Linked DNA regions of Homo sapiens: all the other regions are linked to region 1. The links are contacts of gene promoters, found by promoter capture Hi-C in blood cells and fetal thymus (Javierre and others, 2016). All regions are on one chromosome and are shown on one strand. The core of a region is centred on a gene start or on the middle of the fragment in contact, and the rest is flanking DNA. Distances in the headings are between cores, read along the strand shown. Region 1 holds the start of RERE-AS1 (RERE antisense RNA 1). Region 2 overlaps RERE (arginine-glutamic acid dipeptide repeats). Region 3 overlaps RERE (arginine-glutamic acid dipeptide repeats). Region 4 overlaps RERE (arginine-glutamic acid dipeptide repeats). Region 5 overlaps RERE (arginine-glutamic acid dipeptide repeats).

What was found. Contacts are between HindIII fragments. The CHiCAGO score rates a contact against its expected background, and 5 or more counts as called.
Region 2: a fragment that was not itself captured here is called in contact with the fragment with the promoter of RERE-AS1 in region 1 in 3 of 17 cell types (total B cells, endothelial precursors and naive B cells); the score reaches 6.7 in total B cells.
Region 3: a contact is called between a fragment that was not itself captured here and the fragment with the promoter of RERE-AS1 in region 1, in 1 of 17 cell types (total B cells). The highest score is 5.8, in total B cells.
Region 4: a contact is called between a fragment that was not itself captured here and the fragment with the promoter of RERE-AS1 in region 1, in 1 of 17 cell types (naive B cells). The highest score is 5.3, in naive B cells.
Region 5: a fragment that was not itself captured here is called in contact with the fragment with the promoter of RERE-AS1 in region 1 in 2 of 17 cell types (naive B cells and activated CD4 T cells); the score reaches 5.7 in naive B cells.

Annotation. Positions count from the first base shown.
Region 1 is chr1:8,421,781-8,427,447 of GRCh38, forward strand. It overlaps RERE-AS1 (RERE antisense RNA 1), which reads left to right and starts at 2,865. Exons shown (of 4, transcript NR_125999.1): 1 at 2,865-2,921. RERE (arginine-glutamic acid dipeptide repeats) reads right to left here. Exons shown (of 23, transcript NM_001042681.2): 12 at 947-1,027. RefSeq lists silencers at 1,665-2,004, 2,315-2,454. The HindIII fragment of the contact is 3,073 bases long and covers 2,502-5,574 here.
Region 2 is chr1:8,665,654-8,671,320 of GRCh38, forward strand. The region is part of intron 1 of RERE (arginine-glutamic acid dipeptide repeats); the gene reads right to left. Among named protein-coding and RNA genes, the nearest start is that of RERE, 150 kb to the right of the region's middle. The HindIII fragment of the contact is 577 bases long and covers 2,103-2,679 here.
Region 3 is chr1:8,641,426-8,647,092 of GRCh38, forward strand. All of the region lies in intron 2 of RERE (arginine-glutamic acid dipeptide repeats), which reads right to left. Among named protein-coding and RNA genes, the nearest start is that of SNORD128, 150 kb to the left of the region's middle. RefSeq lists a silencer at 2,224-2,353. The HindIII fragment of the contact is 4,798 bases long and covers 1,145-5,667 here.
Region 4 is chr1:8,572,163-8,577,829 of GRCh38, forward strand. The region is part of intron 4 of RERE (arginine-glutamic acid dipeptide repeats); the gene reads right to left. Among named protein-coding and RNA genes, the nearest start is that of SNORD128, 80 kb to the left of the region's middle. The HindIII fragment of the contact is 8,245 bases long and covers 1-5,667 here.
Region 5 is chr1:8,550,427-8,556,093 of GRCh38, forward strand. The region is part of intron 6 of RERE (arginine-glutamic acid dipeptide repeats); the gene reads right to left. Among named protein-coding and RNA genes, the nearest start is that of SNORD128, 58 kb to the left of the region's middle. The HindIII fragment of the contact is 2,228 bases long and covers 2,327-4,554 here.

The sequences.
Region 1 (5,667 bases), core at 1,615-4,114:
TCCCACCTCCACTCCCTAAAAAAGCAGCTCAATGTCTAGGCAGATTAAACATGGATCACTCCTCCCAAAGTCCTGAAGAGTGTTTCTGGTTAATGAGTCCTCCCTTCGCCTTCAGACAGTGGAGTGGCTGCTCCAACTCCATCCCATCTGCCCTATCCCGTGGCCTAGCCAGAGGGAAGACTCTCTCCCCATCTGCCTCTACACCACCAGGGAAGGAGATGAGGAGGGAGGCAACCACAGGGAAATGAGAATGAATCCCTTCCCCGCATTCTCTTCATATAATTTCACTCTGTATTTTCCTCAGCAAATCCTTCTACCTCACGTTTATCGGGCACATTTGTCAGCTCTGACCCCCAGCTTTGTGAAATACTAAGTAGTTTTTTGTAAAGCTCCATTTAAGCAATTTATAAGATCCCCTTGTACATCTGTCCAGTGGAAAGTGCAAACTCTCAGGGATAGAATATTAAAGAGTTAAAACTCCTCTTCAAAACAGAGCAACATTGAAAAATGGAAAAAATCCCCCAGAACTCAAAGTATAATAAGCCACAAACCTCTGGTTTGGTTGATGATTTCTGCCAATTACCAAATTCAAACTAGTGATAAAATGCTATTTCCTATTCCAGCCACTATGTTTAAAATTTGATGTTAACTCTCCAACAATCCTTCCCCCACAACTAACCCTCTGTTCCCAAAGACCTTTCTGTTCTCAGAGTTACAACAGAAGTCTATGTTCTCCAGGCGGATAAGCATAATCTGTCACTTTACTATCTAAAAATTATGAACTCAAATTAAAAGTCAAGGGAGTAAAACGGAGAGAATTCTGGAGGCCAGCCCGAGTCTGAGCACAGCGCAGGGTTAAAGGAAACCATTTCATAAGATCAAATGTGGAGAGGCAGCAGGAGCAAAGAGGAAAAAATCAAGTTACATAAAGTCCAATTGTACTCACTGTTTCCTTATTGGGAAGCAGCTCCTTTCTAATTCTGAAGAAGTTCTTCCCGTACTGCCTGAGTCCCTTAACGAAGCGTTTCTGTGATAAAAAGAAACAAATGGGATGTAAAAACCAAAAACAAAACAGGATGTCAGCAAAGCAAAGATATCTACAATCAGCAGAATAACAACCACAAAAAAAGTCTCGGCTAGGGAATACTGCCGAGGCTCGGAGAGTATGTCAGCAGCTCAGCTGGGACCCACTGGCCAGGGCAGGCCCCAGCTACCTTCATCAGAACCCCAATCCCACCCACCACGCAGGGCAGCGCGTTTAAGAGAAGGACGTCCTGCGTCTGAGGCTAAGAAGCAATCTGTCCCCCTCTTCCACCAGGCACACATTCTGGTGCACGAAGGTATAAATATGCTCCATGTTTTAATAAAACACAACTGCTTTCCCACCTGAGAACCAAGCTTCCCAGAAGTGTCGAGCAGAAAGGGGAAACAGAACCAAACCCGGTGACTCTTCTCCAGAAGGGAACCCTAGGGGGTTAAAAGGCCGCTTTCCTTAATCCAAAGAATTTGCCAGGAGGCACCGGAAGGCACCAGTATCACAGAAGCCCACCGGGAACACGAAAGCCAGCGGGCCTGCCCCACCGTCCGTCATTAAAAGCCACTCCGAGACACCAGAGAATAACCAGCACCCCTTCCGCCCTCCCGACGCCACTCGCCGCCCCCATCCATTTTCGCAGCAGACTCGTCCCTAACCCCAGCCCGGAGACTTTCACTTTGTCCCATGCCTCCCGAGCACCCCTCCCCGCCCCGGTGGGGGCAGCTCCTGGCTCCGAGCCCCCACCTCGGGGCTCCCAGCCTGGTCCCGGGCGGCCGACCCCAGCAGCCACAGGTAAGCGCCCGGGGTCCGGGGCGGCAAGAGGCCGTCGCCTGTCACTGGGCTCCGGCTCCACAAAGCGCAGGGCGGAGGCGGCCGCGGGTGGCTCGGCGTGTGACCGCGGCGGGGCCGCGCGGCGCGGGGCCCGGGGGGCGCGGGGCTGGGGCCGCCGCTGACGGGGGAGGAGGCAGGAGCGCGGCGCGCAGAGCCCGGCGCGGCCGCGGGCGGCTGCAAAAGGCGGCCTGGATTGCCGCCGCCCTCCTGTCCGCCAGCCGGGGCCCCGCGCCCCGGCCCCGGCCCCGCCCCCGGCCCGACCCCCACCCCGAGGCCGGAGCCTCCAGGGCACCCGGCGCTGGAATCTGTGTCCTCCTTCCGGACAGGAGAACATCAAGGCGGTAAAGCACAGAAACTTCCTCCCTACCGCAGCAAGCGTGGGGAGAGGGCGCCCACAGGGCTGGGGCCCTTCCCAGGCTGCTGGGTCTCCAGCCCACGTTCCGGATGGACGAAGTCGGCTGCGCCCCGGCCGCACGCCCTCCGCCCCAACCCCGCCTCAGCTGCGAAACGGGGGGCTGGCCCCGACGCCCCCCGCGGTCCCTTCCGGCCCGCGATTGTGGGCGGCCTCTCCCTGGCGGCCCAGGCATTAGCCTGCACTTCCCCGGCCGCCGCTTCACAACTAAATCACCGCGGAAGCTTCCCAGCCAATAAATCACCTGCCCACCGGGCAGAGGGTCCCTCCCACTCCCTGTGTTTGAGACCCGCCAGGCGGATTCAGTGAAGGGCCAGACTTAGCCTTTTAAGACCAGTCTGCAACCTCCTACTCCAGTAGTGGAGGCTTTGCGTTTTTGAATTTCACCCTTGCTGAGATATGACTCATCATTGTCAATTTTCAATATAATTCATACAGTTCGAAGGGAAAATCTCTCAAGGCACAAGAAAGCAGCAAGCTCTCCTCTAGTGTGAGGAGTGACCTTTGTTACTTGACAAAAGTATCGTTTATATGATCAACAGGCATCCTACGCTGTGTGCACACAGCATATCACCGGGAGAGACGGCACGGAAAGATGGCCCTGCCCTCAAGGAGCTGCAGTCTGCCCAGGAAGGCAGACAGGTAAACAAACCAGTCCTAGGGCCTGCAAGAAAAGCAGCAGAGGAACAAAGGGTGGTGGGTGAAGCTAGGAAGAGGAAGCAACTTACTCTGCTTGCTGATGTCTTAGAGGAAGTGACAAGGAAGAGTGTGAGCCTGCCAGGTGGGCTCCAGCAGGGCTTCCAGCAGAAGTCAGCCAGGAAAAGGCACAGGGAACATTCTGGGAACTGCAAGGAGGACAGGGTGTGCAGAATGGAGTGCCAGCAGATAAGACGAAAGAGGCAGGCAAGGATCCGGTTGCAGAGAGCCCTTCAGGCCGCACGGAAGAGTTCCTAATTGTAGGCTGGCAGAAAGGCTGAAGCTGGAGCTTTCCATGAAAAGACTGGATGAGGACTGTGCCAGTGGCAGTGTGGCCTAAGTGTAGATTAGGGACAGACCAGTTAAAGAGGCTGCTGACACAGTTCAGGTATGAGATGAGGACCTCAACTACTGGCACACTCCACCTCAGTAATCAGAATTCCTGCCGCTTAATCCATTCTTCAAGTATTCAGGTATTTACTGAGCACCTAGCTGAGAGGGGTCTAGGAAGATAATAAAGGTTGCCATGGACCTTTACTGAACTGTGATTCATTTTTGCACGTAAGATAAGTATGTGTGAAGTCATTACAGAACATTCTGAGATGTCATCTGGCCAAGCATAAAGAAGTGAGGTGCAGCTCATCAGTGCAGCAAGGGACCCAAGAAGGCTAGACTGCAGTGGTCTGTAGTAGTTCAGAATGCCTTCGCCAAGGCAGTGACATCAGCGAGATCACAAGGGGTGGGCAACTATTGCAGGGGTGGGAGGTGGCTTGGTGACCGGGCCCTCCGTGAAGGTCAGAGGTGGAGAATGGGAGGTGGGTTACAGGGGACAGTCTACACAGACTTGGGGCGGGCAATCTGGAGTGAGCCAGGCTGTGGAACGCCAGGACCATGCAATCGGAACGTGGGCTTGATACCAAGTGACATCTAACAGGTCCAGTAAAAGAGGCCTACACAATAAAGGCAGCATGTGAGAAAGGCTGACTCTGGAACATCAGGGTAAGGTGGCAGAGTTGGACAAACAAATTCAGATCCTGTTTCTTCCATTTATTGTGATGCAATCCTTTGAACATCATCCATTCAACCAATAGTTACTAAGTACCTACTATATGCCAGGAGCCTCATATATATTAATTCGAAATCTTTACAACCTAAGAAGAAGTACAATTATTATCCCCATTTTACAGACAAGGAAGCTGAGGCACAGATAGGTAACTAGATCAACTCCTCAGAGACAAAGCCAGAATTCAAACTTAAGCCCCCTCAAATCCTCAGAGCCACACTCTGTAAAATGCAGGCAGGCGTCTACAGTGGTAACTATTTTCTGTTACCATTTTCTATGAGTCTGTACTTTCCTCTTCTCGGGTCCAATGTCAAATCATAAAGTCCTCAGTATTCTTCCTAAGAAGTGTCTTTCAGCCGGGCGCGGTGGCTCATGCCTGTAATCCTAGCACTTTGGGAGGCTGAGGCGGGCAGACCACAAGGCCAGGAGATCGAGACCATCCTGGCTAACACAGTGAAACCCCGTCTCTACTAAAAATACAAAAAATTAGCTGGGCATGGTGGTGGGCGCCTGTAGTCCCAGCTACTGGGGAGGCTGAGGCAGGAGAATGGCGTCAACCCGGGAGGCGCAGCTTGCAGTGAGCCGAAATTGCGCCACTGCACTCCAGCCTGGGCGACAGAGACTCTGTCTCAAAAAAAAAAAAAAAAAAAGTGTCTTTCAACGCCCTCCTTTCCTGCTCATGCTAGTGGCAGTCCCAGGCCAGACCTTTATCTCTCTTTCCTAATAACTAGGCTATTAACCATCTCCCCCATCCAGCCATTTAAAAGCCTCTGCCAAGGAATTTTTCCCAACTATAGATTTCATCCTGAGTCCCACTTTATCTGGCCCTTAGCCCCTACCTAAGAACAGCATGGTGGTCTCTGCAGGACAGTGTTTACACTCCTTAGCCCTGAATTCAAGGCCCTCCAGGATCCTGGCCCTGCCCACCTTTCCAGCCAGATGTCCAGTAATGCCAACTGGCCCACACTGGGGGACCTCTGTCTCAACTCCAGAATCTGGGTAAGGCATCTCCACGTTCACCTCAAAATCTCTCCTACTCCCAAATGAAACCAGATGTCCAGTTACTCTCTCATTAGTTTATTTATTTGTATAAGGCCTGCTTACCCAAAAAGTCCATAAACTCTTAAAATAATTACATCTTACACCTAGTGCCTCCATATAACACTAGGCAGTTGATGCTCACCACATTTTTTGTCTCCTTTAAAAATTATTTATTTATTAACGATGAGGTCTCACTATATTGCCCAGGCTGGTCTCAAACTCCTGGCCTCAAGCAATCCTCCCGCTTTGACCTCCCAAAGTGTTGAGATTACAGGTGTGAGTCACCGCACCCGGACAAGTGAAACCAACCATGAGATGCTGAGGGCCTGGGCTAGGGTGGTCACAGTGGAAATGGACTGTTGAAAGCCAGAAGGTCCATTTTGAACTCTCCTAACAGAGCTGACCTCTTGCTCCATGATGCCAAACTCTCCTAGTTTTGCTCATACCACTTGGCCTAATTCTCTACTCAACCTCTAAATGCTGGAGTCTCCCCAAAGCTTTGTCCTAGGGCTTTCTGCTATATATATCCTCTCCCCATATGATCTCCACTGTTCCCTTGGCTCTAAATATCTTTCGAGATTGTCACTG
Region 2 (5,667 bases), core at 1,141-3,640, 240 kb after region 1:
AAGAGCAGTACAAAGTAAATTTAAGTAGAGCAGGTGGAAGGGATAATGGAATGCCCCCAAAATAATAAAGCAGCCAACACTCACTGGGCACTTAATATGCACTAAGCACTTTACACATGTTAACTCATTTAATCTTCACTATAACAAAGGTGACAATGTAATTTATGATCCAAACTGGATACATCTGAGAGAGAAAAAAGACACAACAAATAACCATGCAGGAAAAACATATGAAAGCCAGGTCATATATCCTAGCTATACCCTTATTCAGTCAGTACTACTGTTATGTATATCTTATCAATGCAAAAGTAAGCACTGAGAGGCTGAGCAAGTTGACCAAACTCACACAACTATGTGTGAGACCTAGGATATGAACCCAAGCAGCTGACTCCAGAGCCTATATGCTTAACCACAAAGCCATCCTGCCTTAAATGACATGGCCTTAAAAGCCGAGTTATCCAATACAGTAGGTTAAGTGAAAAAGGTGCTGCCAGGCTACTGAGATGAAAAGAGCAGTCTAGGAACATTCATCTTATCTGGCAGTAGGAGATGTTTTCCACCAAGAGTTGTTAGTGTCGGCCAAACAAACTTACTTTCAAATCCATATTCTCTGAGAGCCTAAGTAAGGAACCGAGGTACCTCAAGTACTTTTGCCTGTGCCATTTCTGCATTTATTGTGTATCCAAAAAATGTGTTAGCATCCTCCTTTAGGAACACAAGGCAAGGAGACAGTCCACGTGTGGAAGACCTACATGAACATCTTACTCTGCTAGCCCTGCCTCCAAGAGAAGCAGCTGCAGCCAGCATGCAGCAGAAAACCAAACAGGCACCCTACAGCTGGGCGACTTGCTTCCAAAGGGAAATCAATTTTCCTTTCCTGTTGCCTTTCATATCAACATGCCTGGGAAAGAAGACGTAATGGCTTTTGCTCTGGAAAGGGAAATGTCACTCTAACACTTGTATTCACTGAATAAGAAGTAAGGCATTCTCATAAACAGTAACCTGATGTAGAGAATACTTCAAAATATGCCAGAGAATTGCAGATGAAGCTGCAAGATATCACTGAAATATGAAGTCAGCAGATCTGCAAACTCAGACAGAAATAAAACAGCTTTTTATCTGAAAGTTATGTGGTATTGAGAGTTTTTCCATGTTTTAAAGTTCTTCCACCTGACCCAAACCAACCACATAAGCAAAGAGCTACATATACCCCTGCACGATTCTCTACCTCTGAGGTTAATGAGTAAACTCAATCAATCCTGCTAAGAGTTTATATACTCATTCTCAGAATATACGGCTTATTTAAGGAACCTAAATAACTGCAATGGGATGCCCAGGTCAAATTCAAAGAGCAGCCTTTGTGGTATCAGAGCAGAAGGCAGCAAAAAATAAACCCTTTAATGAGGACTGGGTTTAATGCTGATAGTAGCACTTCCTCATCTCCTTTGAGCTTTGGGGAAACAACTGAGAGAACTAAGATTAAAAGACTCTAATAAATAAGGCTTCTCAATTTCTTCCAAAAAGACATACTAATAACAAAACACAAGACCACTGCAGAGGGTGCAAAAGTACCCAAAACAGCAAAACTCAAGGCTACAATTAACAACCCAATTAAAACCAAGTAAGAAACGATATATAATCTTTATTATTTGAAGCAAAAATTCCCAAAGATGAGGTGCCCCAGGAGGTTTCCAATAAAAATTTAAAATCCTGTCTTTCTTTAAAAAACACACAAACTCGGCTAGGTGTGGTGGCTCATGCCTGTAATCCCAGCATGTTCGGGGGGCCGAGGCAGGAGGATCACCTGAGGTCAAGAATTTGAGACGAGCCTGGCCCACATGGCGAAATCCCATCTCTACTAAAAATACAAAAAATTAGCTGGGCATGGTGGCACGTGCCTGTAATTCCAGCTACTTGGGAGGCTGAGGCAGGAGAATTGCTTGAACCTGAGAGGCAGAGGTTGCAGTGAGCCAAGATGGCGCCACTGCACTCCAGCCTGGGCAACAGAGCAAGACTCCGTCTCAAAAAACAACAACAACAACAACAAAACCCACACAAACTCATTCATACAAATAACTGCTTTCATATACTTTTAAATGTGAAGCTTTTCCAATTATATACAGTTAGCTTGTACACTGCCAACAGTTGTGTCTCTTCTACTCAGCAGGTTAAGGGAAATACACTGCTCACTCTAAACAGGGCTTCTCAACTGAACTACAATTAACATTTGGGGACAGATAATTTTTTGTTGTGGGGGGCTATCCTGTGCATTGTAGGATATTTCGCAGCATTCCTGGCCTCAACCCATACAGATTCTAACAACGCAACCCACTGCTCCAGTGAGAACTACAAAAATATCTCCAGATACTGCCACATATCCCCTGGGGAGCAAATATGCCCACAGTTGAGAACTACTGCTTTAAACAAATTATTTGCCTATTGCAGAGATTTCAAAGGGTTAAGCATCTGTGTTGCTTCATGCAAAATTATGCTTCACTAATATGCAATCCATAAAACACCATTACGAAAACTATAGTCTGCCATGTTCTTTGTTCTCTGAAATAAACTAGACAAATTCAAAGTATTGCTTGAAACAGTAATTCCACAGATGTTTGAGGGTGAATTAGGAGAACATAATCAAATATCCTGAAAATTCTGTTGTTTACTGGCAAGTCCTGAAGCTTGCTAGGAACAGAATTACTCATAGGTGACCTGCTCTGGTCATGGGGTCAAGTGGAAGCTTCCGCTGTCACACAACTAAAGAGAAAACCTGGTGTCCACAAATGCCAAGGGCAAGGGAAGCCAAATGCCGATGAAACCAAATCCCTGATCTTGAAAGGGGAAAAGAATCCCTAAACTCACTTTCCCAAAGCATGGCTGTAAACAGAAAACCAAGTGGAAAAGATAAATGCAAAACACAAGCAGATGGGTAAATAAAGTGTAGTATACATACACACAATAAAATATCCAGCAATAAGAAATGAGGTACAGATATATGTTACAACATGGGTGAACCTTGAAAACATTATGCTAAATGAAAAGAGCCAGTCACAAAAGATTAGATACTATATGATTCCACTTGTAATAAATGTACAGAAAAGACAGATCCATAGGGACAGAGAGCAGATTACTTGTTGCCTAGGGTTGCAAGGGTAAATACAGAGTAACTGCTATGGTTATGGGGCTGCTTCTGGGAATGATGAAAATGCCCTAAAATTGATTGTGGTGATAGTTGCCAGTATCTGTGAATATTCTAAAATGCACTAAACTCTGTGTGTGTGTGTGTGTGTGTGTGTGTGTGTGTGTGTGTTGTGTTTTTAAGACAGGGTCTCACTCTGTCTTCTGTGAATATTCTAAAATGCACTCAACTCTGTGTGTGTGTGTGTGTGTGTGTGTGTGTGTGTGTGTGTGTGTGTGTGTGTGTTGTGTTTTTAAGACAGGGTCTCACTCTGTCACCCAGGCTGGAGTGCAGTGGCATGCGTGATCACGGCTCACTGCAGCCTTGACCTACCGGGCTCAAGCAATACCCCCCCCAACTCGGCCTCTCCAGTAGCTGGGATTATAGGTGTATGCCACCACACCCGGCTAATTTTTTTGTATTCTGCAAAGATGGGGTTTCACTGTGTTGCCCAGGCTGGTTTCAAATTCCTGGGCTCAAGCAATCTGCTTGCCTTGCCCTCCAGCAATCCGCCCGCCTTGGCCTCCAAAATGCTGGGATTACAGGCATAAGCCACCATGCCCAGCCAATTGTACACTTTAAATAGGTAAATTATATGACATGTGAATTATATCTCAACAAAGCTGTTTTAAAAACAAACACACAGCAGCAGCAGCAACTGAATTACAAACTAACAAGAAAAAGCTCAGGCTTCACTACAGCCAAACAAAGGTGCATCTGGCTACGAAATTCACAAGGATGAGCTTTACCTCTGCAACTGAGAAAAACCACCTTTTAAAGCTGTAAAAACACAGTCAATTAAACTAGTAGAGTTTTATTTCACGTAATGCTGAGAATGAAAGAGAGCCTTCTTTGGACCACGGTAATCTTTAATATACAGGAATTCTTGGTCAGGCTTACTATCTCTGTATAGCATGTTCAAAAGTAGATTAAGTTGGACAGGGTTTCTTTCAGTTTGCAAAGCTCTAAGATTCAAAGTAATTTGCAACCATGGCACATAAGCTCTCAGCGTGTGATGAAAGGAAATGACAGGGTGAATTTTATATTTAACTTAATACAATTACACTTCACACCTATAGAAAAAAATCAAAAGCATTCAAAATGCACTTCTAATCCACAGGTACAAATTATATCAAAGGAAAAATGGAACCACAAAACTCATCGGAGCAGCTCTTTTAAACACTTAGAATCTCTAAGTCTAAGATAAAAGGCAAACTGGCTCTGACTAAAAACACAAGTCTCAGTCAAAATTCAATTTGCTGTTTTCTATGTCTGAGCCATTCTAACTGGGTGTGATTCTAGGTTGACCAAATGTATTAACCCTGCTCTCTCTGTTAACCTGATGTCATTCAAAAAGAAAAGCAGAAGAGCCACTAGAACAACTCAATTAAGATGCCAGCAACTAGTAACTAACCAGGGAGGGCAGGAGAAGTCCCAGGACCTAGAACATAACACTTAAATGTAGTTATAACACTGATCATCAAATAAACATCAATCTCCAGAGGAGATTCTGTCAGTTCCCCCATTATTTCAGCAAATGTTTACTGAGTTCATACTAGGTGGCCTAGGAGCTATGTCCAGAACACACACAATCTCTAACCTCAGAGAGATTACAATCTAGTGGGGGAGAGAGCAGACAATAAACAAACAAGTAGATTACTACAGACACAGTCTGTAAGTTGGCCATAAGATGTGCTATAGAAAAAAAATAAAGCTGGGCAATGGCCATGGAGAGGTCATCAATTTAAGGTAATCACTGGCAAGGGATCACTGGACCTAAACGAAGCAAGGTGCAAGTTACATGGTTAAAGTGGGGGAAAGCATTCTGGGCAGAGAGAAAAGCAAGCACAAAGTTCTGACTCAGGCAGAAGCATGCCTGGCATGTCCAGGCAACAGCAAAGGGACATGGTGGCTGAAGCAGTGAGCGCAAGAAGAATTGGAGATGGAGAGATAGCTCAGTACTTACTCAAATAAGGGAAAAGCCATGGTGGAGTTTTGCATAGAGAAGTAACAATCCGAGGTACATTTTAACAGACTCCCTCTGGCTCCTTAGGAAACAACTCAGGCAAGGTCGTAGCAGTGAAGGTGTTAAGCAGTGGTCAGATTCTAGCCCTCAGAAGTGGCTAACAGAGCGCACGTGGTGTGAGAAAAAAGGAGGCCAAGGAAGACAATAAGGTTTAAATCCAAGCAACTACAGTCATTTACTGACATGCAAAGAGAACAAAAACTGGGAATTCTGTTGGAATGTATTAAGATGTATGTGTTGAGTGGTCAGAAAGCTCTGGGCTAGACCTAAATCTAGGAGTCCTCAGTGCACAAGTACTAATAACCATGGGGCTGGATGGTATCAAAACAAACTACTAGGGATGAAATATTCAAGATGGCAAAGAATGCTTTGCAATGAATATTATGGACAGGCCAAAAACGTTCTGTAAACTGCCAATGAAGTTGAAATGGTAGAATGATGGAAAGACTACATGACGATGCTC
Region 3 (5,667 bases), core at 2,294-4,793, 220 kb after region 1:
CAAATGCTTGCTCACTAAGAAAAAAGGACAGAGGATTTTAATATAACTGCAGGAAATCTCAGTCCAATTAGATTCTAGGTAAATATAAATCTTGTTGCACTGTGATTGGAACTCTGTCACAGTCCTCCGGACTGATTTTAGCATCTGGCTTGGAGAGTCAAACCAAAGAACTCCTTGCCCCACTGTTTCTCTCCACACACTACTGAATTAATCAAGTACCTCCAGGTTCTGTGCTGAACAAAGAAGGTCTTCTGAAGGCTGTCAGCTTGCTTTTACAACCAACCAATAAGACTCACAGAACATATCATACAACTGTGAGGCAGTAACATCTCTGAAAATATTCATGATTTACCCTAGTTTATCATGGCGACACCTTAAGTAATTCACTGTCTTTCCTCATTCAGAATTAGATCACGTGAGGCCAGGAGCCATCCCCTTTTGGAGTTTTGATAATGGAGACTTAGCAACTATCTTTCAAACCAAGGAGGATTAAAAATTAAGTAATCAAATTAACTAGGGTGGCAGTTCACTTCCTTAACTTAATATACATCTTTTATCTCTGTGAAGATCTAGAAAAGTGCAGAAGGATTTAACAGAATCAAAAGTATCGTATTAACATTTTGGGGGTCAAAAAATCAGGATATATTTTATATTTTAAATAATTTTATAGTTGAAAGAATTTGGTCTGTTAGAAACTGGCCTTGTAACCCCAATCTAAAACCCCAATCTAAAACAGTAACACTTAACAAGGATTTTAATATAGGACTGGCCCTTTCTGAGTTCCGCACCTATGTGCTTGTGTATATACTTATTTAATCCCCATCACAATTCTGGAGGTAGGTACTCTTATCCCCATTTTATTGATGAAAAGACAAAGGCACAGAGGCTGTCCTCTACTCCACGTTAACCCACCAGCAGTGGGGTACTAGATTATGCTGTCCTTTCTCCCTCTGTGTAACTGATTCAGATTTGTGGTCAAGATGAAACCTAAGGAAGTTTATGCACAACACTGAAACATCTAAGAGAATTTTTTAGGGCTGTTTCACTTGTAAGTCTAATTAACTTATAAGAAGAGTTAAGTACTTGAGGTTTGTGTTAATAGACTTTTTAAAAATAGAAACCAAATATTAAATTAGTAAAGGCAAGCTTAAATGTTGAAGATATTAACGAGTTTATAAACAAGACTAATTTGTAATTCAAAATCCCTTAAAAGTGATTAAAATGTTTAATTTATAAATGAGATTTATAAGCTGAATTTTTTAAAAAGTGTAACAGTGTCCTTCAATTTGCAACTTTAACAAATTGAATATCAATTTTTTTAAACCTAGGTAAACCTTCTGGACAGTCATTTCTGCATATAAATATCAATCTTAAGGACTCTTCCCAAAAAGTCCTCCCATCAACTGCTCTGTGCACATGTCTCCTACTCAACTGCTAAAGGAAGAACAGCTGAGACAATGCTACCCAAGAGAGGCACCTAGGGCTAAGCACTCACATCTAGCAGCTAACTCTGCCTGCGCTAATAGGTATCTAGGGAATGAGTAAGTGCCTAGAATGTGCTAGACACTTTTCCAAGTACCTGGGATACATCGGGGAAAAAGATCCCTGTCCTGCTGGAACCAACCAGCATGGAAAAAGACACACAACAGAAATGGAAATGGAAGATGCCATGGGTGTGAGTGACTGTGAAAGGTGGGGGGATCCAAGAATTGAAAATCCTAGTGGGCTCAAACAATTTCTGGATCAATTGGCCCCAGGAAGGTGGAAAGTTAAGAGGTAGAAGAGTGGAATCCATGAGTAGGTCATCACCAGGCTGCATTCCTGAATCTGATCATTAATTGCTCATAAAAATACCTTCAAAGATTGACCTTTCAACATGTTTTTGCTCATTATTGAGCCCAATTTTTAAACAGCCACCTAAAGAACATTTCTGTTTCCTCTGGAACACAGTTTTTGAACACACTGTGGTTCACTGCTTCTTATGTAGATATTTCTGCTATAACACAATATATGTTACTGGGAAGACCACATATTCAGCAAAAATGTTCACTAAAAATGAAAGGACTTACGTAAAATACAGGGTAAAAAGCAGACTACTCAAACCCTATGCAACTCTGAAATCAGATGGCTATTTTGTTAAAAATCAATACTTAAGAAATAAGAAACCCAGGCAGTTACCCAAGAGTGGCTGCACGCTGCCAAAGGTGATACTGAGAATACATGAAAACAACAGATGCTGGCTTGAAGGCACCAAAACAATGCAGTAATCTGGGGGTTTTTGTGAAGGTGAGCACAGCAGACAGGGCAACCTGCCACAGAGCATAATGTTAGCGTGTGCCTCTCTGGGGAGGGAACCCCAGGGGACAGGTGTTCATTTTTCATTTCATTTTCAATAGAAATGAGAAAGCTCCTGCTGATGCAACAGCCAGAGTGAAAGTTTAAATTCTCACCTATTTTTTTCCTTTCCTGCTAAAATACAATCCCACATTATACCATTAAAGTATATATTATAATTCTATTCCATCTGGTCACACTCCTCTTGCCTAGCAAAAGTTGCACATGAACCAGCATAAAGTGCACATTCTATTGACCTCACTGTTCTATTTACTTACCTATCACACACAAAGCAAAACAAACTATTGCTAAATATCCATATGCAATAACAAGGTCTCATGGCCAGCCCACATCTATTTCCCCTACCAAACTGCTTCCCAAGCTCATTGTGGGGAATAACTTTAGCCCCATCATGTGCAGGCTTGGGAAAGCAATCAATCCAGGTTTCTGTCTTTTTTTATACAAGACATGTGCATGCAATTCAAGGTAGACATACTATATTTACTCTTTTGGAACTGTGAATCTTGAGCTGAGTGACAGCAAGGACAGGAAGATCCTGAAGGGCCCTATTCCAGTTATAGCATGTGGTTGGAACGGTCAGTAGTTCCCGCCAACCAAGTACCTGAACGCTCTCGTTCCAAGTAGGTTTTGGAGGCTTTTTTCCAGCTTCCCAACCATTATGGGGGAAGCCTGTAATTATGTGAGCCACTCTAACAACACATTGCCCTTTGTGTTATGTGATCAATGTACACCACCTTGCATCAAAAAACTTTTCATGCATACAACATGCTTGCTTTTTATTAGATCATAGAAAAATGTGTATTTCTCTTTCAGTTACTTAGGGTTCAAAATCCAGTAATCACCATTAGCCTATGTATTCTTGAACAATTTACTACTCACCTTCTCAGCTTACTTCCCATAGTTTCCTTATGGACTATGTTGCCCAGGCTAGCCTCAAACTTCTGGGCTCAAGTGATCCTGCCAACTCAGTCTCCTGAGGAGCTGGGACTACAGATGCTCACCACTGTGCCTGACTAGACATACAATTTTTGGCAACAGGAGAGCTATAAATAATTTTAGGAGTAAAAGGAGAAAAGAGAAAAAGAGCAAAGTAATTATATCACTTGCATTTTCGAAGAAATCAGTCTATCTCTTCTTTTTTCTTCCACACAGGTTATTTGTTTTTTGTATTCTCTTCAGGGTTTTATGCAAATGTCCGTTCATTCTTGGCTTTAACCAGTTCTCACAGGCCCATACCATTTTACAAACCAGCTGTGTGACTTTGGCCTCCATGTCTTTGTTTCCTCATCTGTACAGCAGGGAAACAATGTCTAGGTTGTATAGGAATTTTCTAAGGACTAGAAATTACACACTCAAAGCAAATCCAGTAGATAGAAGGTGCTTTAAAACTGGTTGTCACCCATGTTGTAGCTCCCTTACTATTTACAGCCAAGTTCACAGTGCCCTTTGCAATCAGGCACTTTAGAAGATGCAAATTATTCCCAATAATTTGGCCAGAATGTAATTCTGCAGCCACCTCTGTTCTTCTTGAACTGCATGCATCATATTTTAACGTCAAAATCTCAAGCCATGAAATCACATATTTTTTCTCTAATTTTTGATCTGCCTAATTTGTAGTCTGCCACAGGTAAGTGACAAGCATGCTGGGTACTAATCCTCTCACCTCATGCAATGGACTCATTTTATATCTGCGTTAGCTTGAAAAAGACTGGGAAGCACTAATGAGTGATTAGTGACTCTCAAATCTAAACGTGTGTTTAAATCACCTGGACATCTTATTATATAAAACATGGATTTTGATTCAGCAGATTGGGGGCGGAATCTGAGATTCTGCATTTCTAACCAACTCCCATGGGATGCCAATCTGTGGCCAATGCTTGGTGCAGAGAACAACTACAGTACAGGTTTCATGATACTTAATGATCCTTTCCCTATAAAATCAAAAAAGATATGATTAATTTGTCTCAAATATCACTTCCCATTTCTCTAATTAGAATAACTTTAGTATTTTCTCTTTCCTCTATCCTCACGAAGTAATAAGTTTTTATGTGCTAAAGAATTGTCTTTCACATACGTGGAATTTGAATAACTTCCTAATATACATGAAAAGGCAATCAACTAAAAGATGAAATAAAATTTCAAAAGAAACAGAAGAAATTAAAAGTTAACTAATGTAATCCATAACTAAAAGTTCACTATAATGTGACTGAAAATAAGAACTACATTTTCCCAACTGTTCCAAAGACATACAACTAAGAGAACTGAGGAGATGTCACTCAAATGTGAAACACCTGAACCTGAGTCTACCTAACAACAAAGCTCTCAAATGTGAAACACCTGAACCTGAGTCTACCTAACAACAAAGCTCTTCCTGCCTGTTACAGGATGAGTTTGTCCTTCCCAAAATTCGTATGTTGAAGTCTTTACTCCCAATAGCTCAGAATGTGACCTTATTAAAGAACAGGTAAGGCCAGGCACAGTGGCTCATGCCCGTAATCTCAACACTTTGAGATGCTGAGGCAAGACTCCTGGCTTGAGTCCAGGAGTTCAAGACCAGCCTAGACAACAAAACAAGATCCCTTCTCTAAAAAAAAATTAGAAACTAGCTGGGCACAGTGCCGTGCACCTGTAGTTCCAGCTACTTGAGAGGCTGAGGCAGGAGGACCACTTGAGCTCGGGAGTTCAAGGCTTCAGTAAGCCGTGTTCATGTCACTGCACTGTTGTCTGGACAACAGAGTGAGACCCTTCCCCGCCACTCAAAAAAAAACAAACAAACAAAAAAAAAACAGGGTCATCATTGCCAATGTAACTAAAATAAGGACACATGAAAATATAATTACACTGTAGGTGTGATTAGTTAACATTAAGTAAGGTGAGCCCTAATCCAATATGACTGGCATCCTTACAAAAAGGAAAAATGTAGATAGACACAGAGATATGTACACAAAGAGAATGCTATGAAAGATCACCACTACGCTGCCACAAAGCAGCAAACTACTGTAAGCAAGGACAGAGGCTTGAAACAGATCCTTCCCTGGTGCCTTCAGAGGTAACATGAGGCTGGGTGGAGTGGCTCATGCCTGAAATCCCAGCACTTTGGGAGGCCAAGGTGGGCGGATAGTGTGAGCCAAGGAGTTCAAGATCAGCCTGGGCAACATGGCAAAACCTTGTCTCTACAAAAAATACAATTAGCCAGGCATGGTAATGCATGCCTATAGTCCCTGCTACTCAGGAGATTGAGGCTGCAGTGAGCAATGATCATGCCATAGCACACCATCCTGGGCGACCCTGTCTCAAAAAGAAATGAAAAAG
Region 4 (5,667 bases), core at 1,738-4,237, 150 kb after region 1:
ATTTTGTTTCTACTAGTTTTGACAAATGTATAGAGTTGTGTAACCTCCACCAAAATCAAGATAGGCAACATTCCCATTACCACAAAAAGACCAACTTCCATTACAGAATCAACATTTGCTGTGATGAAAAGGCTTTGGGTGCCAGTGTTGCCAGAAAAGCAACATTCTAATCTAACTTCCTTCCTCCATTTTAGCACACAGAGAAGTTAATATGGAGAAAAACAATTCAGAGTCTGCTGTGACTCTTCTATCTATTGCTAGAGAATACTACAGACAGGAATCCCATGATCTTTAAATCAAGTAATCGGCTAGATAAAACTTCTGGGCTAAGAGGTAATATGGTCTCAGGAAATTCCTAGAACATACAACAGTTTTAGCGACAAGTGATATAAAAATAAACAAAAATAATTTCAAATTAGATCTGAGATATACTTTCCTCAAACTATATAAGGAATATTTATTGGGCATCTGCTAGGCACCAGACACTGTTCTGGAGATGGTTGCTGAGTATATAGAAGTGGGAAAAACAGGAAGTCCCAGTCCTGGTAGAACTTCCATTCCAATGGAGGAGAAGACCCCTTACCAATTCCCCCAACCCTCTCCTCTAAAATGTCCAATAACGGTTAAGTGCTTTTAGAAAGTTATGATGAATGAAATCTGCCACTTAGTAACCATAAATCCTAGGCAAGTAACATTTATTTACACTGTTATTTAATCTCTTTGGATATTATTTTCCTTAAAATTAGTGGTCTTCTCAAAAGTACTTCAGGATAGCAGGAAAAACTGTATTGTGACCTGATATGTCATATACAGAGACAGGTTTAAATAACCCTAATGATTCCATACACCAGTTTCTCTACCTACAGGACCTAGGAGGAAACCTAAATGTCTTGCTTGCTTGCTATCCTGAGCGTGTTCATGAAAACTCCCAAAGGTGGCTCTACTTTCTTGCTTTATCTTTCTTATTTTTCTTTTTAAAGTTTTATTATGAAATATTTGACAGGCAGAAAGGTATAAAAATAACAGAACCATCTGTACCAAACATACCTAAAGCAACAAAAACATTATCGAACCTAAAGAAGCTGCCTGTGGAACCTGCCTACAGCCCAGAGGTAACCACCACCTTGAATTCACTGATCATTCCCATCCAGTACTTCATGCTTTTACTTAATATATATATATAACTAAAAATACATAAGGTATTATTTTGCATGTTTTTATACTGTACATAAATGACACTAGACTCTTTGAGTTCTTCTATAATATGCTTTGTTCTTTCAGCATTACACTTACATGATCCATCCACGCCCTAGTTCACTTATTTTAAGTGACATGTATTACCTTCATATACAGCACATCACAATGTGTTCATACATTTTCCTGATAGTAGACATTTGGGTCATTTCCAGTTTTCCACCATTACAACCTTGGTTGTAATAAGTATTCCTATATATGTTTTCACACATAAAACTTTTCTATTCAAATTATTTCGATTACTCTGAATGTTTGGTATCACAGCTAAGTGTTCAAATTTTGGTATTGGTAAAATGTTGTTCACAGTGTCTTACTAAGTAATTTAAATATATATTAAAGGCTAAAAAAGTTTATGTCTAAGCATGGTTTTAGATAAAGCCATTAACTGTGATGTGTTGCCTTTTATTTCTGGAGACAGTCTCACTCTCACCCAGGCTGCAGTGCAGTGGCCCAATCACAGGTCACTGCAGCCTTGACCTCCTGGGCTCAAGCTCTCCTCCTACCTCAGCCTCCTGAGTAGCTGGGACTCCAAGCAAATGCCACCACGCCCAGCTAATTTTTGTACTTTTTATAGAGATGGGGTTTCACCATGTTGCCCAGGCTGGTCTTAAACTCCTGGGCTCAAGCAATCCTCCCTCCTCAGCCTCCCAAAGTGCTGGGATTATAGACATGAGCCACCGTGCCCAACCAATGTGTTGTATTTCCATTAATAATTCACTGCAAAATATTTTCTAATTTCCACTGTGATTTCTTATTTGACCCACAGACTATTTAGAAGAATCTGGGTTCCTTCTACACATCTGTGTATTTCCCAGGTACTCCTTTTGGTCTTGATTCCTAGCTTAGTAGCACTATGGTCACAGAACATGTTCTGTATGATTTCAATGCTCTGAAATATGTTAAGACTATGATCTATATATAGTCTTTTTTTTTTTTTTTTTTTTTTGAGACGCAGTCTCGCTCTGTCGCCCAGACTGGAGTGCAGTGGCACGATCTCGGCTCACTGCAAGCTCCGCCTCTCGGGTTCATGCCATTCTCCTGCCTCAGCCTCCCGAGTAGCTGGGACTACAGGCGCCCGCCACCACGCCCGGCTAATATATTTTTGTATTTTTAGTAGAGATAGGGTTTCATCATGTTAGCCAGGACGGTCTCAATCTCCTGACCTCATGATCCACCTGCAATATTATATAGAAATGAAAATACTGCAACTTACAAAAACATGAATTTCACAAACATGCTAAGCCAAAAAAATCAGACACGAACAAATATATATTGCATTTCATTCCCTTCATATACGAAGTACGAAGACAGACATAACTAATCTGTGATGGCAGAGCTCACAGCAGTAGTTACGCAGTTAGTGGCTAGGAGAGGGCACGAGGGTAACCTCTGGAGTGCACACATTTTATTTCTTGATACCAGAAGTTAGACAGATGTGTTCACTATATGAAAATTCACTGAGCTTTCTATTTAGAATGTTCTTTCATGAATATATATTAGACTTCAATTAAGTCTAATTTATGAAATTAAAAATTAACATCTTTCTAAAATTAAAAGTCTAATTCGCAAATGCTAAAATTTACATACACATATACACATTAACACGTATGCACATGAAGTATCTCTGGAAAGATACAAGAAGCTGGCAACAATTGTTGCCTCTGAGGAGGAGAACCCTAAAACAACTTATACCAAAAAGTAAGAAAGTGCTCAAAGAATGTGAAAGACACGCGAAACTCAGCCTGAAAGGACAGACCTGCTGGACTAGTTCTGCTAGAACAACTTGAGAATCAACACATAATGTTAGTAATAGAGTAGAAACTACAAAGAAAACCAGAAATCGTGCATCCTTGCTGATATAGGTAAATGAATAAAGTGAATAGTTGCTAAATAACCGGACACTTTCAGAGTCACAGGGCACCTTTCCATAAAATATTAACTGATAACAAAGGATGAAAAAAGTAACCTTTTTTTTTTTTTTTTTAAAGACACTGTTTTGCTGTTGTCCAGGCTGGAGTGCACTGGTGCAATCACAGTTCACTGCAGCCTCAACATCCCACTCTCAGACTCCCAAGTAGCTAGGACTACAGGCCTGTGCCACCACACCTGGCTAATTTAATATATATATATATATATATATATATATTTTTTTTTTTTTTGGCAGAGACAGTGTCTCACTATGTTGCCCAGGCTGGTCGCTAACTGCTGGCTCAAGCAATCCCCCAACCTCGGCCTCCAAAAGTGCTGGGATTAGACTTGGGCCATTGTGCCCACCTCAAAGAAATAACTTTATAATTAACTTTTGGGCCTTGTAAACCCAATCTTAAGTGATCAAAGTGAATGCCAGTAACAGAAGGAACCAAAATTGTGCCCTACTTGGCAGGGTACAAGGAAAAGATCCCAAACCTGAATCTAATAATGAAGAAATACGATACAAATGAAAACTGAGAAACATTCTACAATGTAACTGAACTGCAATATTCAAAAGTGTCAAGGTCATGAAAATCAGGGGAAGACTGAAGAACTGTTCTAAAATGAAGAGGATTAAAGAAACATAACTAAGTATATAACCTATAATTCTGATTAGATCCATTCCCTACACAGGGCATTGAAACAAAAGCCAAAATGTGTACAGGGTCTGAGGATTAGACAGTAATAATGTTATTAATGTTAATTTTTAGGTTTGATTGTTGACTTGAGGGCTACATCAGAAAATGTCCTTGTAAGAAACACACATCCATTATGTATCAGTGTGTAAAGGGGTATTTATTTGGCAACTTATTCTCCAGTGGTTCTAGGGAAAAAAAAAAAAAGTTCTCTGTGTTGTACCTGCACCTTTTCTATAGGCATGGGGTGGGTTAGATAAAAGACTGGAGAAATAAATTTTAGTGCCAATTATAAAAATATGTAACCATAGGCAGTGGTCACTAAAAGCCATTTTGACAAACAATCAGAGTTAAAACTCAGTAAATAAGAAGAAAGTTACATGTAACTGTAAGGATAAAAGCATGTTAATGCCAGCCAGTTAAAAATTAGTTTCAGGAATTTAGTCCATAATAAAGATTAAATTACAGAATAGCAGGGAAAGATGAACTATTTAATGAGTTTGTAGAGATTCCTAGAAAGTCATCTAAAAAAAATTAAGTTGTATCTATACCTCATACTGTATGATTCAAAATGATCTGAAATGAGTCTAAATGGGTCAAAGATTGAAATGTAAAGAATAAAACCATAATAAAAAAATGCAAATTAAACTTATATGAAGAATATATTGCTCATACTGGCAAATATCCAAGTTGATAACACTCTGCTGGCCAGGTTATGGGAAAAGGGTTGTCATTATGTTTTACAGAAACATAAGCTGGCACAATTGTGTTATAGAAAGAGTAACTGGGCAACATCTACCAAAATTACAAACATATTCATCTGTTTCTCCAGCACTTATTGAAATTTATTCTAAAGATACATTTGTGCTGGGCACGGTGGCTCATGCCTGTAATCCCAGCACTGTGGGAGGCCGAGGCAGGCAGATCACAAGGTCAGGAGATGGAGACCATCCTGGCTAACACGGTGAAACCCCGTCTCTACTAAAAATACAAAAAAATTAGCTGGGCGTGGTGGCGGCGCCTGTAGTCCCAGCTACTTGGGAGGCTGAGGCAGGAGAATGGCGTGAACCCGGGAGGCGGAGGTTGCAGTGAGCCAAGATGGCGCCACTGCACTCCAGCCTGGGCGACAGAGAGAGACTCAAAAAAAAAAAAAGATGAAAGAAAGAAATTTCATATGACTTTTGAATTTTTTTGTTTTTTTAAATTATATAAATGTATTACCTATTCAAAAACTATTTTTAAAAACTCACAGGGTGTTTGTTTATGTCATAGGCCTTTGCTCTCTCTCTCTCCCCTCTCTTTCTATCCTAGTATATTGCTGCTCTTTCTTTTTTATGTAGCTAGCCTTCCAGTGGATAGATGGTGTCTGACCAACAGAATTGGAACCTGCATCAGCCATATACTGTTAAGAGAATAAAACGGAACAGAAACAAGCCTGTATAATTACAGTTGGTCATGCCAACAGTCTGGTGACCAATCTTTTACACTTAAAACTTAAAGAAGTTACACGTTTTCAACTGCCTGTAGAAGAAAATCACATACTCCTTGGCCCCCCATACTCATCATGCTGACACAGATCACTTGAGCTTAAAAATGCTCACAATGTTTCTGAAAGTGAATAGGCACAGAGCCTTCAAATATGAGATCTAGAGTATCTCACTGAATATAAGATATTCCACTCAATGCTACCTTATAAAACAAGCCCTAGAATCAAAATAGCTTATCACTACATCTTATTCATTGTGAGATATACCGCTGAGGCTGGACATGCACTTTAAAAGGGAAAGAGGAGCCGGGTGCAGTGGCT
Region 5 (5,667 bases), core at 2,191-4,690, 130 kb after region 1:
ACTGTAGATTAAAGCCAGATAAGGATTCTTAAACTGCAAAACTAAGAGCTCTGAGACACCATGAAACTCCTTACAGAACTTGCAGGAGCTAAAGGGTGTTTTTTGTTGTTGTTGTTGTTGTTGTTTTTTGTTTTTTTTGAGACAGAGTCTCGCTCTGTCACCCAGGCTGGAGTGCAGTGGCACGATCTTGGCTCACTGCAACCTCTGCCTCCCAGGTTAAAGCGATTCTCCTGCCTCAGTCTCCCTAGTACCTGGGACTACAGGCACCAGCCACCACACTCGGCTAATTTTTTGTATTTTTAGTAGAGACGGGGTTTTGCCATGTTGGCCAGGCTGGTCTTGAACTCCTGACCTCAGGTGATCTGCCCACCTTGGCCTCCCAAAGTGCTGGGATTACAGGCGTGAGCCACCGTGCCCGGCCACTAAAGGATTTTTAAATGTTTTAAGGAATGGTTGGGAAACTGTCCACAGATGTGACTAATCTGTTTCAAGCCCTAAACATATACATGAACCTAGTTGCTCATAACAAAGTAGGGAGATAAATTAATTTATAATGAAAAGAAACAGACTGGAAGCCTCAAACAGCTAATTTAGGGCTCCTTGGCCCTGGTCTTCCAGAAAATTCATCCTAAAGCATCTTCCTATAATAGGAGCCCCTGGGTAAAATGACAGCCTATAACCTGACCTGCAGTAGGATATTTCTTTCCCCAAGTGACTCCTCCAAATAGGAAGCAGGTAATCAGAAAGCTGGAAAACAGTCCTCAGTCAGCAAGACACTTACGATCTCCTGTGCTGCCCTCCACAATCAATACTGGAGAATGCACTGATGCGAGTACACAATAAACCCAAGAATGTTCCCCAGGTCACATGTCCTCAGTCCAATCACAAAGCAATCACTCCAGATCCTTGGATCCTTAATAAAACATTATCCTTAGGGGAGAAAAAGTAGCACAGAAAACAAATTACAAGTTACAAGTTTATCTGCTCGTTCTTGGAGTGTGTTGAGATAGCTCCCTAAGCTGAACTCTTCTCCATATACCTGAAGGAATCTAAATATCTAATCCCTCCTCCGCCAACAGGCCACAGAGAAATAGTAAAATAAGTGTATGCTGAGTGATTACACCATCATTAACTCAGTACAAAATTACACTTAATTTCACTTTTTCTTTTCTTCCACTTATACTTTTAAGAACTCAGCAGAAATTCAATGAGCTATGGAGTGTACTACACATGTTACTAGGGCCTGAGATGCTCTTTGAGGGACTTTCACACTCCTTACCATACTGGATGTGGAACCAGATGTGTGTGTTTGGTTCAGGATTCTGTCATTAGTCATGTGACCTTGAACAAGTTTGTCAAAGGTTAGCTCAAACGTTAAAAAACGTGACACTGGCCACAAGGCTACAGCAGAGCCAGGACTCAAACACAAGTCCTCTAACTTCAGTCTATTATACCACAATGCCAGCCAAAAATTCTTACCCGGGAATAAACAGAACTCAAAAAATATTCAAAATGCTAACTTTACTCTATGGTGGTTATGGATAAAGTGTGATGAAATAAGATCAGCAGCTGTAGAAACTTACCTTGAAAGGTAGAGATAAGGGATAGCTAAGGTCAAGAATTCAAAACTAACAGCAATGCAGTAATGCTGAACTTCAACACACATTTCTACAACTGCGAAGGGCTCAGATTTTCTTATAGGAAGAAACTCTGGTAGGAAAAAGCTATAATCTCACAATTTACAAAGAAACTACAGGGCATTTTGTTTTCCTTTTGATTCACCATGGCTAAAGGATAAAGCTCTCTCTCCTCCTTTATAACCCAACTCTAGCACCAGCTTGAAAGCAAACCTTATACATCAGTTTCCTCCTGAGTGAATGGAATGGCAAGAGCCCCCTCAGAGTTACTGTGACCGGATGAAACCACACAACCGAGCCCTTTGATCTTCAAGAAGAATGGTGCTAAGCACTAACATGATCAGTCTTTTTCTTTTTTCTTTTTTGTTCCCCATGGTTTTTTTCATTACATTTGTTTGATCCCTTTTCATGTGCCCACAGACTATTTTATTTGTATCTCTCTCAAAATTGAATTTATTTTTAGTAGTACTGGTTTATAACTATGGAGAAAGAATAAATTATTTCTGTGAATAAACTATGAGAAGAAAATTGGAAAAAAAAGGTAAAGCTTAACTTTAACCATCCCCCACCAAATACACCCCAAACATTTTTTAAGCTAATCTACCTTCGTGAAGAGAAAGAGAACAAACAGAGACTGCTGGGGGGCACTGCCATCCCATTCTGTTTTATGGGAGTAATGGGACAGGCAAAGCTTCTTTCACAGTGAGCGCTGCTGCCAAGAGCGAGGCCGGATCACTAAGTGACAGCAACGCGACCCTGCACCATTAGGGAAGTGCGTCCACACACACGTGTGACCCTGCACCACTGGGCCAGCACGTCCACACACACACAAAACTGCACCACTAGGCCAGTGCGTTCACACACACGTGACACCACACCACTAGGCCAGCAAGTCCACAAACACTCATGACACCACACCAGTAGGCCAGCTCGTCCACACACATGTGTGCAACACTGCACCACTAGGCCAGCATGTCCACACACACGTGACACACCAGTAGGCCAGTGTGTCCACATATACGCGTGCAACACAGCACCACTAGGCCAGTACATCCACAAACAATCGTGACACCACACAAGTAGGCCAGTGCATCCACACATGCGTGTGCGACACACCACTAGGCCAGTGCGTCCACACACACGTGCAAAATTGCACCATTAGGCCAGCATGTCCACATGCATATGAGACACTGCACCATTAAGCCAGTGCGTCCACACACACGTGACACTACACTACTAGGCCGGCACGTCCACACACTCATGCAAAATTGCACCACTAGGCCAGCACATCCACACACACACGTAAAATTGCACCATTAGGCCAGCGCGTCCACATGCACGAGACACTGCACCACAAAGCCAGCGTGTCCACACACACGTGACACTGCACCACTGGATCAGCACATCCACACACTCACGCGACACTGCACCATTAGGCCAGCTTGTTCAGTGACCAAACAACCACCTGTCATCTGATGTCTTTGAAAAAAATCCAAGTCACAAAAGGATGTTGTATTTGACACTTACAAAATCAAATTCAAGGTAAAAGTTTTATAAAGCAGCTACCACTTTTTATGACCACTTTAAAGAAAACACCACAGGAGAAAAAAAAACTAATTAATGAGGATTATAATTATATACCCAGTGAAAAGAAGATAAAGTATTACCACTGTAGCACTCCAGCTGTGGTGGCCAGTGAAAGGACAGTGACTTACACATTTACACATCTCCAAGAAACATCTGATTGTAAACTTAGCTACAGTAAATTCATGGAAATCAGATGGAATTATTTAGGATAACTTGTTCTTCTAAAAATGCTAAAGATAAAAATGGGCCAGACGTGGTGGCTCATGCCTGTAATCCCAGCACTTTGGGAGGCTGAGGTGGGTGATCACTTGAGGTCAGGAGTTCAAGACCAGCCTGGCCAAGATGGTGAAACCCTGTCTCTACTAAAAATACAAAAATTAGCTGGGCATCGTGGCACATGCCTGTAGTCCCAGCTACTCGGGAGACTGAGGTAGGAGAATGAATCACTTGAACCCAGGAGGCGGAGGTTGCAGTAAAGTGAGCCAAGATCAAGCCACTGAGCTCCAGCCTGGGTGACAGAGCAACACCCCGTCTCAGAAAAAAAGATTCTACAAATCTCAATACCAATGATAAGTACTCAAATATGTTGATTTTAAGCATTTATGTCAAAACATGTTGAATACAGTTACATATCTCACATATTTGTTCAACTGAAACTCTAAATCGATTAAAATCTTTTCCCTCAACCCGTGAGACAAGACGGAAACAGGAAGGAAAGAGTATGCAAACCAGTGTAAGAAGTATTCCAGGATTTGGCTGAGTGCGGTGGTTCACACTTGCAATCCCAGCACTTTGGGAGGTCAAAGTGGGTGGATTGCTTAAGTTTAGGAGTTCAAGACCAGCCTGGGCAAGATGGTAAAAGCTCATCTCTATGAAAAATACAAAAATTAGCCAGGTGTGGTGGTGCACACCTGTAGTCCCAGCTACTTGGGGAGGTAGGATTGCCTGAGCCCAGGAGTTTGAGGCTGCAGTGAGCCATAATCTCACCACTGCACTCCAGGCTGGACAACAGAGCGAGATCCTGTCTCAAAAAAAAAAAAAAAAAAAAGACAAGAAATATTCCAGGATTAAGTCATCGGTCCCAGCTAACAATATTCCAGGATTAAGTCACCGGTCCCAGGTAACAATATTCCAGGATTAAGTCACCGGTCCCAGCTAACAATATTCCAGGATTAAGTCACCAGTCCCAGCTAACAATATTCCAGGATTAAGTCACTGGTCCCAGCTAACAATATTCCAGGATTAAGTCACTGGTCCCAGGTAACAATTTAACTGTTCCATCAATATAATCAACCCTGCATTAACTTCCTTTGTTCAGCAAGTGAGCTTAAGCTTGGAAAGCCAATCTTAAAAGTCACACAAAGCTTGTGGAAGTTCACAAGAAGTTTATAAAACACTGAGAAACTCTCTAAATTCATCTAAATTCCTGTAAGAAGTCAAACCTAACTACATCCATGCCATACCCCACAGCAGAGTTGGCAAACTATGGCCAGAAAAGCCATATCTGGCACACCGCCTGCTTCCTGTGGCCTGAGAGAAGAGTTTTCCCATTTTTAAATGGCTGAAAAAGAAAGCAAAAGAAGAATATTTCCTGACACATGAAAATTAAATGAAACTCAAATTTCAATATCCATCAAGTTTTACTGCAGCCCAGCCACTTCATTTATTTCCATGTTGTCTATTGCTTTTATGCCACAATGGCTGAGCTGAGTCACTGCAACAGATACCATGTGAAACATCAGCTGACCCGAAAAGCTTGCCAAAGCCTGCCCTAAAGTTGCTACTAATTTACCTTGAAATAACTGACTTTAGCTATGTAGCTTTGCAAAAAAGACTCCAGGTGGTTTTCCTGAATACCATCTGAGCATCAGAATGGAGAAATTATTGTAACTCATTGTAGTTTTAAGATAAAAGCTACCAAAATCCTAGTATTTTGTTAAAACCATATTACAGTACTTAACAAAAAAAAAGTAGTCTTTCACCACTTTATTTCCAGTGAGGAAAGGGTTTTAAGAATATCAGTAGTCTTACTTCCTATACCACTTAAAAGGCACAAAGTCAGCCATACACACACAAAATGAGCCATTATGGGCATCCTTTTCTTGAAAGAGACAGAAAATACCCAAAGATGCAAATGTCATGGTCATTTTTTTGACATAATTTCTGAAGACATTATGACTGGCTGGAATGTTACCTTCTGCCTCAGAATGAAATCTTCAATATCTTTCTACCCATCTCCTCCCCCTGCCAATGAAGCTGTATAGTAGGAAATTTTTCAGACATACAGAAAATGGAAGAATAGTTCAATGAAAATCTCTATAAATTTTGCCTGGGTTCTCAAGTAATTACACGCTGCCATATCTGCTTCATCCATTTCTCTGTCTTTTCTAGTGGCAGGAATTAAATCTTTAGAAAGTAAACTGCAGACCATCAGAACACTTTT